Linked DNA regions of Homo sapiens: all the other regions are linked to region 1. The links are contacts of gene promoters, found by promoter capture Hi-C in blood cells and fetal thymus (Javierre and others, 2016). All regions are on one chromosome and are shown on one strand. The core of a region is centred on a gene start or on the middle of the fragment in contact, and the rest is flanking DNA. Distances in the headings are between cores, read along the strand shown. Region 1 holds the start of GPR26 (G protein-coupled receptor 26). Region 2 has its middle 57 kb from the start of CPXM2. Region 3 has its middle 37 kb from the start of CPXM2.

Region 1 (3,258 bases), core at 320-2,819:
AAGCTGAGGTGAGCTCAGGACAGCGCAGCTAAGAGTTCCCTCCTTCTCTCCCTGACAGGCTCCTGCGATGGCAGGGGTTCCCAGAGGGTACCCATGCTTGCCCAGCTCCATCTGCCCTCCTGAGAACAGCAGCCAGCGTGACGACGGAGGTGGGGGCAGATTCAGCCCCAGGAGCCTTGGGGCACACTCCTTCTGCAGGAGCCTCTAGGCACCAAGTCAGGCAGACATTGGACAGTGCTCTCTGGGGAGGGCAGGAAGAGCCCCCCACCCCACCCCTCAGGGCCCACCACAGAGAAGGACGCAGCCCGAGTCCATCAGAATTCACACACACACACACACACACACACACACACACACACACAGTCGTGAGACAGAGGCAGCGCCACACACCCGAGAAGGGAAAGACTCAGAGAAGCGACACACTTGGGTCTGAAAAGCTCTTAAGGAGCTCCCTAAGCATCGAGGCCGCCCTCTCGGCCAGAATCAAACACTTTGAAGGTCTTTAATAGGGAACAAAGACCACGGACTTCCCATGTGCCATTTAAAGTGAAAGCTACAAACACAGAAAATGTGCATGAAGAAGCCCAACAGAGTTCTGACTGTCTGTGATTTCTACCCTGATGCTTCAAAAACCGATGTATAGATGGGCTCACCCGCATTTTTTGTGGCCCTGGTTTGCTGATACCCTAAGCACCTCCTTAAGCCCCACAGCTGGGCCGCTTTCCCCACCCTCGAGTTCTCAGAAGAAACAGAGGCTCGGTGGAAAAGAGCCCCTGGGGCTAGGGACCTCCCACTCCCGCCGAGATCCCGCGCGGCTGTTCCCAGAGCCTTAGCTGCGCTCGGCTCACCTGGGGTGCAGGTCCACCAGCAGCACCAGCGTCTGCATGGTGATCACGTCGATGCGCTTGCAATGGAAGCGGGCCACCTTGAGCACCTTGAGGTACGTGCAGCAGAGCACGACGAAGGAGAGCAGGAAGCTGAGAGCGTGGAAGGCGCCAGTGAAGACGGCGAAGCGCAGGCGCTCGTCTGGCCGCCGGCTGCACAGCGTGCACGAGGCGTACAGCTGGTGGAAGCCGAGCCAGGACAGGGCGAGCGCGGCGGCTGGGAAGGTGAGCGCGTGCAGCCACGTGTAGGCCACCATGAGCGCCGCGTCGCGGAGGCGCATCTTGGCCCGGTAGCTCAGCGGGAAGACCACGGCCACCCAGCGGTCGATGCTGAGCGCGGCCATGCTGAGCATGGAGTTGGCAGCCAGGAAGGTGTCGAGGAAGGCAGCCAGGCGGCACAGGCGGTCGCCCGCCGGCTGCCGCTGCGCCACGACGCCGGCCAGCGTGAGCGGCATGTTGACCACGGTGCACAGCAGGTTCCCGCACGTGAGGTTCAGGGTGAAGAGCGCCGGCGCCTGGCGGCGGATGTCCGCGCTGTGCAGCAGGCAGAGCAGCACCAGCGCGTTGGACAGCAGCGAGACGCCCATCGTGCCCACCAGTAGCCCCGCCAGGCCCGCGTCCCACGAGTTCATGGTGCGCGCCCCGCGCCGGCGCTCAGGGTCCGCAACCCGGCGCCGCCATGGCGCTGCCCGCGGCCGGCTCAGCCCCTCGGCGCCGCCGCCGCCCGGCGACCACCGGCCCCAGCCGCCATGGCTCCCAGGAGGGCGCGCGGCCACCCCGGAGCCTCAGGCGGCCTCCCGGGCAGGCGTCTGGGCGCGCAGCCACCCGGGAGCCCCGCGCCGCCTCACGGGCAGGCACCTGGCGCGCGGCAGTGAACCCTGGCCCCCAGCAGCACCTCTGGAGCCAGCGACTGAGCGTGCGGTAGAACCCGAAGCCTTTAGCGCCCCGGGATCCTGGGTTGCAGGCACCTGCGCCCCTGCTCCGCCTCTGCCTCTGCTTCCTCCCGCTCTCACCCCATGCCCGCGAGCTCTGTCTCCGCTCCGCTCCGCGCACCCTCCCGCTCTCTTGCTTTCTCTCTTCCTCCCTCTCTGCTCTCTGGCTCGCTCTCTCTCTCTCTGCTCTCCCCTCCACCTCTCTCCCTCTCCCCGCCCCCCGCGCTGTTCTCTCCGTCTGTCTCTCCCACCCCCAATTTTCTCCCCTCTCTTGTTCTTCCCCCTCCTCTTCTCTCTGTCTCTGGAATCTGGCTGCTTCTATCACAGAAATCCCCACTGGTGCACACACAGACACACTCGCGCACACACACTCACACTTACAGGCTCGGAGGGAACCAGCCCCGAAGGCTCCGGTGCAGGGTGATTGGCTCACTGTGGCTCCCTTCCCCCAACATCCTCCATCCCCCCGTGTGTGTCAAAGACAGGCTGAGTCAAGGAAATCTCTCTGAGAAAAGGAAGGGATGCCTGGACACCTTCACGCCCCAGTGCCACCTGTCCCCGCCTGCATGCTATCCTGGCAGACCTTGACGTGAGTGTCCCAGCCTGTCTGTCCCAAGAACAGCTGCTGCATGACTGAGGTTACTCGATTCTCAGTGCCTTCTTTCCCTCGCCCTACAGCCAGAGCTTCGGCTGAATCCTAAGCCTGCTGCAGGGACCCCGAGGCTCTCTGTAACATCCCCTGGGCATCTCTCCAGCTGGGAGATGCCTTTGCTGACCCTGACTGCTCCCACCTGGGCAAGCCAGGCTGTCCACAACCAGCCTAGACAGCTAACCCTAGTATGGTGGATACTCTGTTGTCCTGCTCCAAGTTCCAGCAGCTGCCTCCTGTAGCCCTGAAGCCACACACCCCTCTGCCCTGAGACTGGTGAGGCAGCACATTCTAGTTTATGAGGGACCTGCCTGATATAAGGTGCCAGAACTCTTCAGAAAATGGGGAGGGTGTCAGCTGGCAGGCATGGTCCAAGCAACAGAGACCCTGGACACAGGGGACCCCTGCCTCCCCTCAGCAAAGTGTGCAGGGACTGTGGCCCTTCGGTTCTCAACCAAGACTCTGTGGGGAAGGGGTGGGGATGGACAGGCAGGGGCAGCTCTCAGAACCCCTGCAGCCCCCTTCAACTCTGTGAGATGCTGCCCTGCAGTGACCCCCTGCACCATGTCAGCAACCTCAGATCCCTGTCCTGGACATAGAAAGCCCTGTTCTGGAGCCTCCTGGTGTGGCCAGTGGTGACTGGACATTCCTGGGCCTCAAGCCACTAGATAAAGTAAGCCAAGCAAGGACGTGGTGGACTCTACGCCCTGAAGGTAGAGACCTCATTATACTTAATTATCTCCTTCACATAGTACCAAGCACATTGTAGATGCTGTATTGTGCCATTTTTCTT
Region 2 (3,258 bases), core at 524-3,023, 280 kb before region 1:
CCAGGCTGGTCTTGAAATTCAGACCTCAGGTGATCTGCTCGCCTTGGTCTCCCAAAGTGCTGGGATTACAGGCGTGAGCCACTGTGCCCAGCCGTTTCCTCCATTTTATAGATGACAAAATTGAGGCTAGAAGATGAAGTCACCTGCCCAGTAGTAAGTGGCAGAGACTCTTAGACCTGGGTATTTCTAATTCCACAACCCTTGCAGCAGTATATTTGCCTGGTTTTTTGTGACATACTTAAATATCAAATCTTTTTTTCCTCCAATTGGTGAGTAATTAAATACCAAGAGGGAAGAAGCAGTCAACTCCTACAGAAGGAGTGGGGCAGGGAGGAAAGGACCCTGTTGTAAAACCATGTTGGAGAAAAGATCGGACAGATCCATTCCCCTTTAATTGAGAAAGGGCTTCGAAAATACTCCCCTTTCTGCGTAATACAAGACGATAGAAACTGACTTCATTTAAGTAACTGAGCGAATGCACAAGCATCTGAGCACAGACGCATAAGCCTGTGTTATGTCTGCCTTTTATTTGTTTTCTCTGGAAATGTCTGCATTTAACATACATAACAAAATGCCTTCATCATGATCTGTTTGTCATTTAAAGAAAAAAGAAGCCCAAGATTTAGAAACTCAGTATAGAACAAAAAGCTTTTAACATAGCAGTTTTATTTAAAAACAAAACCAAACAAGAGCCTGGCTTCCTTGATGTGAGGTCATGTCACTGCCCTGGCCTGTTCTTCCTGTGTCCATCCCCGGACCCGCACCCCTGCGTGCTCCGAAGTTGTCATTGCCCACCCCACAGGGCCTCCCGGGCCTGAACTCTCAAATAGGTATTTGCTCTGTGGATGCAGAAGGAAAGAGCTCTCCCTTTAGAGAGAATCCAATTATCTGACCTCTTACAGCAAAGACCCATCTGGAGAATTTTAATCATTCCAGCAGAATGGAAGATTCAGTCACTCTTGGTTGATCTCTGTGACTATGCGTATTCATTTCCGTGATTATGCGGTTTTATTATCTCTTGTAGGTAAACAAGGATTCTGAGAGGTTCATTGCCAGTGCCCATGGGTCAAGCTCCCGATGGTCTAGGAGAGAATATTGTGTCTCCAGCCAAGCTGGGGATCTGCATCTTACCTCAAGGGGATTAAAGGGCACCCTTCACCTTAGTTCTTTGAGCCCCATTAACATCGTATATTATAATGATGAGCTGGATCAAACCCTAGGCCTGCACCATTCCCACAGGCCAGTGGTGCCATTTGCATTGAGCCTGCCCATCTTAACCCTTTGCCACCCAGGCCCTTCCCAGGGCATTTGTGCCAGGCTGAGTTAGCACGTGTCTTGTTGGCCCTGGGGTGAGTAGGAGTTGGTGGCTGTGGCCCAGAAAAGGCCTGGCTGGAGATGAGCAGTGTGGTGGGGGGAAGGGACGGAGACGGGTTGGGGAAGGGGTCAGTGAATATTTTCAGCAACTACCTGCCATCTTTGCTTCAGTTTTCCCATGGTGACCCTGGTTGATAGGTTTATCAGCCTCAGAGCCCTGATCCTGGCCTCAGTTTCCCTCTGGCTTCCTGCAGCTTTTCCCTCATGGCCTTCCTCTGGCTGAGGGGTAGCCATCTGTGCCTCTGCTTCTGGGCCCACCTGCTCTATGAGGGACAGTCCAAATCTCACCTCCCATCTCCCGAGACGTAGTCATCCTCCGGGAACTCATGGTGTAGGCAGAGCACAGAGTGACCTGTGCTTTGATGTGGGTATTAGAGAAACCACAGCCACCTGGTGGGTGTAGGAGGAGCAGAGAGAATTGGCAAGGGGATGGGGCAGCCTCCTGGAGGACGTGATGCTGAACTGAGCTGTGAAGGATGAATGGGAAACACCTGGAGGAAGAAGGGTGAATGGGAAACACCTGGAGGAAGAAGGGAGTGGGGAGGAGTTCCAAGCAGAAGGGACCGAGCCGCATGGACTGGGAATTCTAAGTGGCTGGATAGAAAGCGTCTGTCAAAGACGGTGACACGTTAGGCCAGAGAGATTTGGGGACCTGAAGGCCTCGAAGGTCTCTCTCTGTGTTACTTTCATGGGCGTGGAGTACAGATGTGTCTCAGAGCACCCCTACACTTGTGCAGTGCACAACTCAAATAACTGAGCAGGGTGACCCTGCCCCACTAAGGGAGATGAGCTTTATCTTGAGGGGAATGGGCAGCCTTCAGAGGGTTTGAAGCAGAAGATTGACATGGCTATAAATGTGAGTTTAAAAGATCACAGTGGCTGTGGAGCATGTGTTAGAGGAAGAAAAGGCGGAGGCAGGAAAGCAGTTGGGAGGAAGCCTTGTGAATGCAGGTGAGGCTTGTCAGGGCTGCTTTCAGGCAGTGCTGGGGAGAATGGAGGGGCGCATGCTGTGTGGGGCCCGCAGTGGCTTCTGTAGGAGCTTGAGAGTGACAGCACAAGGAATGAAGAAAATGTCCAATCCACTGTAAACATCTTCGGTGAGTAACAACGGGACTTGTAAAATCAGCTGCCATTGTTGATGCTTATGCCATAGAAACTTGCCAGGAGTTTTCTCCCCGACAGTTTCAATGATGCCTGCTGAATTATGTTGCTTGTCACTGAGAATATGAATACTTTAAGGCATTTCTTTGTTTCAGTAACTCTCCCCTGCTAATACTCAATACCTTTTCTCTGTTACGACTCAAAGAGATGTTCTTGACTCTGACCACCCACGTGCCAATTCAGTTCTGGAGAAGCAGAAAAACCTGAGTGCTGGAGATGGCGAAAGGTCTGTGTCCCTGGCGTGCCCAGGTCCACGTCTGCCTGCCCTCCTCCCTTCCCCAGTTGTTGCAGGGGGCTAAATGGTCTCAGCACTGCCCAAGCACCCACAGCAGAATCTGCTAGAGCCTGGTCCCGTAAGCTTCCCACCTAAGCTTAGTCTCCCAGTTCTAAGCTCAGCCCCCACCCTCAACCCCTCACAAAGGCAAATACCTCCCCTCTTCCCTCTCTCCCAAGACTACTCTGAAAACAAGCCCTTATACTTGGTCATCTATTGACAGCTATGCTTTGCATAAGAGAGAAGGATCTGGAATCCCTGGGCACAATTCAAGAGGCAGGGATGTGGCAGAGGGAGAAAGAGTGGAGAGGAAGAGAAGACCCAGTGAGAGGTGGGGAAGATGAAAAAGCTGGTAGCCAAGAAAGACAATTCCAAGGCTGGTGTGGCCAAAGAACCACAATGCCATTCACACTGAAATATGTGTGGTTGCCAGGGAGCCACCTGGGAGG
Region 3 (3,258 bases), core at 226-2,725, 260 kb before region 1:
GCAGTCCTGGTCCCTGGCACAGGGAGAACTGCGTTCCTTTGGAATGTTTCACGCCCAAGATAAACTAAGCTGGAGTCATGGGGCTGCTGGAAGCAGCACACCCCAGTATGTTTTTCTCCTGAGGACAGCACCTCTGCCTCCAGTTCAGATGGTGCTGCGGGGAGCAAACAGAAAGTCTCAAAGAGTAACTTTGAAGCAGGGCTGTGGGATGGAGGTTTGAGCAAAAGCCCAGGAGAGGGGTCTGGGATTGCCTTACAGGGCCCACGTGTACTCAGGCATGAATTTTCCCAGGAGAGCTGAGAACTCAAGCTATCAAAGTGTGTCACTGTGAGGTGGCCTTTTCAGTGTGCTTCGTGTATCAGGTGTGAGAAAAGGACCAGGCTGGTGGCTGCGTGGAAGACAGGGGTGGAGGGGAGCCAGGTTCTTCAGGGGACAGAGATGGCCCAGGACGGGCTGGGCAGCCACGCCCACAGCAGATGCCTGGGAGGGGAGGTGGTGGGAACCTCTGTCACCTCTGCTTCAGCAGCAGCTCTGGGCACACCAGGGACGCCCTACCCAAGGAAGGAAGCATGACCCGGTGGTTGGAGCTGTGACCCCAGGCTTCTTGTCCCTTTCTGATTACAGATGGGGTCTTTGGCAGGGATCCAGAGCTGGCAGGGGCGGGCTGTGTATCTGTGTGGGTGCACACCCCGCTCTAAGACAGGACCTGCTTGCCTTTCTGGGCTACCACCAAAGGGGCAGCAGGTTCCTTGCAGGTAGCCATTTTAAAATAAGGCTTGCAGAAGGCAAAGGGACCCTTCCCAGCAGGAATAGTGGGGGTGAGGGTGGGTGGGGAGAAGCAGAAATGAGGACTCTGGCCAGAGCACCCACTCTACACTGGGATCCAAAAGGAAGTGAAACAGCGAGGGCAGGGAGAAAATGAGGTTTCTTCCATGGTGGCCTCCTGGCTTTCCTCCTCCTAGCCTTGTTTGTAGCTCCTCAGTTTATCTGGTCTCTTCTCAGATTCAGTTGCTGTTCTGCAATTTCACTTTTGTCAAAGACTGGAGGGACTCTGGCCCATAAAGCCATCAGTGGTGCTGACCAGGAAGCCCCCAGCTCCTAGAAGCTGAGTCAGCCTCATTCACTCCAGGGGAAGGATTGCCAAGGCACCAGTGCCCTCCCATGGGCCCGGGGTCTGGCCTCATGAATCCTCCGAAATTCATCCTCCCTGCACTCTGCCAGTGCCCCAGCCCATTGGCTCCTCAGGTCCCTAACTGTGGCCACCCAAAAGCAGTCCAGTTTGCATGCTGAGCCATCATCTGTCCTGGCACTGCCTGCCCCATCCTGTCACCTCTGACAGATCCTTTCTCTGATCTCCCAACAAGGTCTCAGATGTCTCCTGGCTTCAAACCTGCTGGCTTCTCCAGGATTCCCTGTCCTGGACTCCTGCCTAGGAGAGGTACCAGCTATAGGCCCCCTGTAGGAGTGCCCCCCTGCTCCACTCAGGACCACAGTCTTCCCAGGATCTTCTGGGGAAGCCCCATCTCCCAGTTACCACTGTTGTATAATAAACCACCTCAAACTTAGTGGCATAAACCAAGTATATTTTTCAACGGCCATGGATTTTGTGAACCAGTAATTTGGACAGAAGCCAGTGGGAATGGCTTATTCCTATCTCTGATGTCTGGGAAGCCTCAAAGGCTAGGGGACTAAATGGCTGTGGGATGGAGTCATCTGAAGGCTCATTCACTCATGTTGAACATTTGATGCTGGCTATTACCTGAGATCTCAGCCAGGGCTGTTAGCGGGAACACCCAGAGATAGCATCTCCGTGTGGCTGCTTGGGCTTCCTCACAGCATGGTGGCTAGCTTCCAAGCATGAATGTCCTAACAGAACAAAGCAGAATTTTCTGACCTTGTCTCAGAAGTCACATAGAGATAGGGATGTTTCTACCATCATCTGTTGGTCAACATAGGATCAAGGGGAGGGGAGAGAGATGCCACAATTTGATAGAGCAGTGTCAAGGCCATATTATAAGAAGAGCATGCTGTGGCCACATGTGTTGGTGTATTCTGCTTTGTTGAGACATAATTCACATAGAATAAAATTCACCAATTTTAAATTGCAGTCATTTAAAATCTGCATCTCAAAATACAGAAACAGTCCACCACTCCCAGGGGTCATCAGACCATCCACTCTGGCTGTCTTTGAAGAGTTTTTGGAGAGGTTTGGAACCAGCTATTGAGGTTGGCCAGGCCAGGTGTCCACGGACAATCTTTGTGGTGAATCAAAGCTCTCTGGTGGCCTCCCTTGTTCAGCACTCAAGAAACCAGTTTCCAAGCATGAATCTGTGGTCTATGAAGGTCTCGCAGAAGGCAGGCTGATAGGAGTACATGGTGGTGGAGGGGAGTGGGTGCCCCAGCCAGGAGGTTTGGCAGACAAGCTCTGTGCTGTGTGTTAATGTGGGCATTGACACTCATGAATAGGCCAGGAGGTGGGGGCACAGTTGAGTGTGTTAGTCCTCAGGGGTGTGCAGATCCTGGGTGGGCAAAGAGAATGGAAGTGCCTGGTACCTACCCCCAACACTGGGGGGTTCCTGGAGAAAATTCCCGAAAGGGAGATCCAGGGAAACGAGATTGGATATCTTGCTAACAAGTAGGTGGGAACTAAAACCACACAAATGTTGGAAGAAATTATGAACGTGACCCATTTGTACTCATCTGGGGGTAACAAAGCCTGGTGCAGTGATTGCACAAGCAGTTACTTCCAGAGTGGCAGGTGTCTGGCCAATGAGAATAGTTGTTAACAGCTACTGGGAGCTAATGAACCAGGTGCAGTTGGGAGCCCTAAGGCCGCATGAGCAACAGGTAAGCACCTGGACTCCAGAGCTCACTTGCTTGGTATAAATCCTGGCTCTGCCATTCATTTGCTGTGTGACCTTGGGCAAGGTGCGTTAGTCTCCTCATCTGTAAAGTGAGGTTGACATTAGCACTTGTAGGTCATGGGGAGGATTAAATGAGTTAAAGGCATGTGAGGTGCTTAGGATAGTGCCTGGCATGAGATAAGCCTATGTACGTTTTTACTCTCTGATTGTAAGAATTGGCTATTCTGATTCTCACATCAACTCAACAACAATGAGGCAGGTACTATTATCATGCCCACTTTATGGATGAGAACACTGAGGCACAGGGGCATTTTGCTTGTCTAGCATCACTGAAGGGTGGGACACAGGAGGCTGCCAGAGCAGAAGCCTCAAGGGAGGTAGAGAAAGAGGAGAG

The links. Contacts are between HindIII fragments. The CHiCAGO score rates a contact against its expected background, and 5 or more counts as called.
Region 2: a contact is called between a fragment that was not itself captured here and the fragment with the promoter of GPR26 in region 1, in 1 of 17 cell types (endothelial precursors). The highest score is 7.3, in endothelial precursors.
Region 3: a fragment that was not itself captured here is called in contact with the fragment with the promoter of GPR26 in region 1 in 1 of 17 cell types (endothelial precursors); the score reaches 6.3 in endothelial precursors.

Annotation. Positions count from the first base shown.
Region 1 is chr10:123,664,666-123,667,923 of GRCh38, reverse strand. GPR26 (G protein-coupled receptor 26) reads right to left here and starts at 1,569. Exons shown (of 3, transcript NM_153442.4): 1 at 849-1,569. The coding sequence starts at 1,516. RefSeq lists enhancers at 747-1,284, 1,285-1,823, 1,824-2,361. The HindIII fragment of the contact is 9,100 bases long and covers 1-3,258 here.
Region 2 is chr10:123,946,715-123,949,972 of GRCh38, reverse strand. No RefSeq gene overlaps it. Among named protein-coding and RNA genes, the nearest start is that of CPXM2, 57 kb to the right of the region's middle. RefSeq lists an enhancer at 864-1,544. The HindIII fragment of the contact is 2,245 bases long and covers 651-2,895 here.
Region 3 is chr10:123,927,211-123,930,468 of GRCh38, reverse strand. It overlaps a transcript of CPXM2 not described here. Among named protein-coding and RNA genes, the nearest start is that of CPXM2, 37 kb to the right of the region's middle. RefSeq lists an enhancer at 3,058-3,258. The HindIII fragment of the contact is 4,757 bases long and covers 1-3,258 here.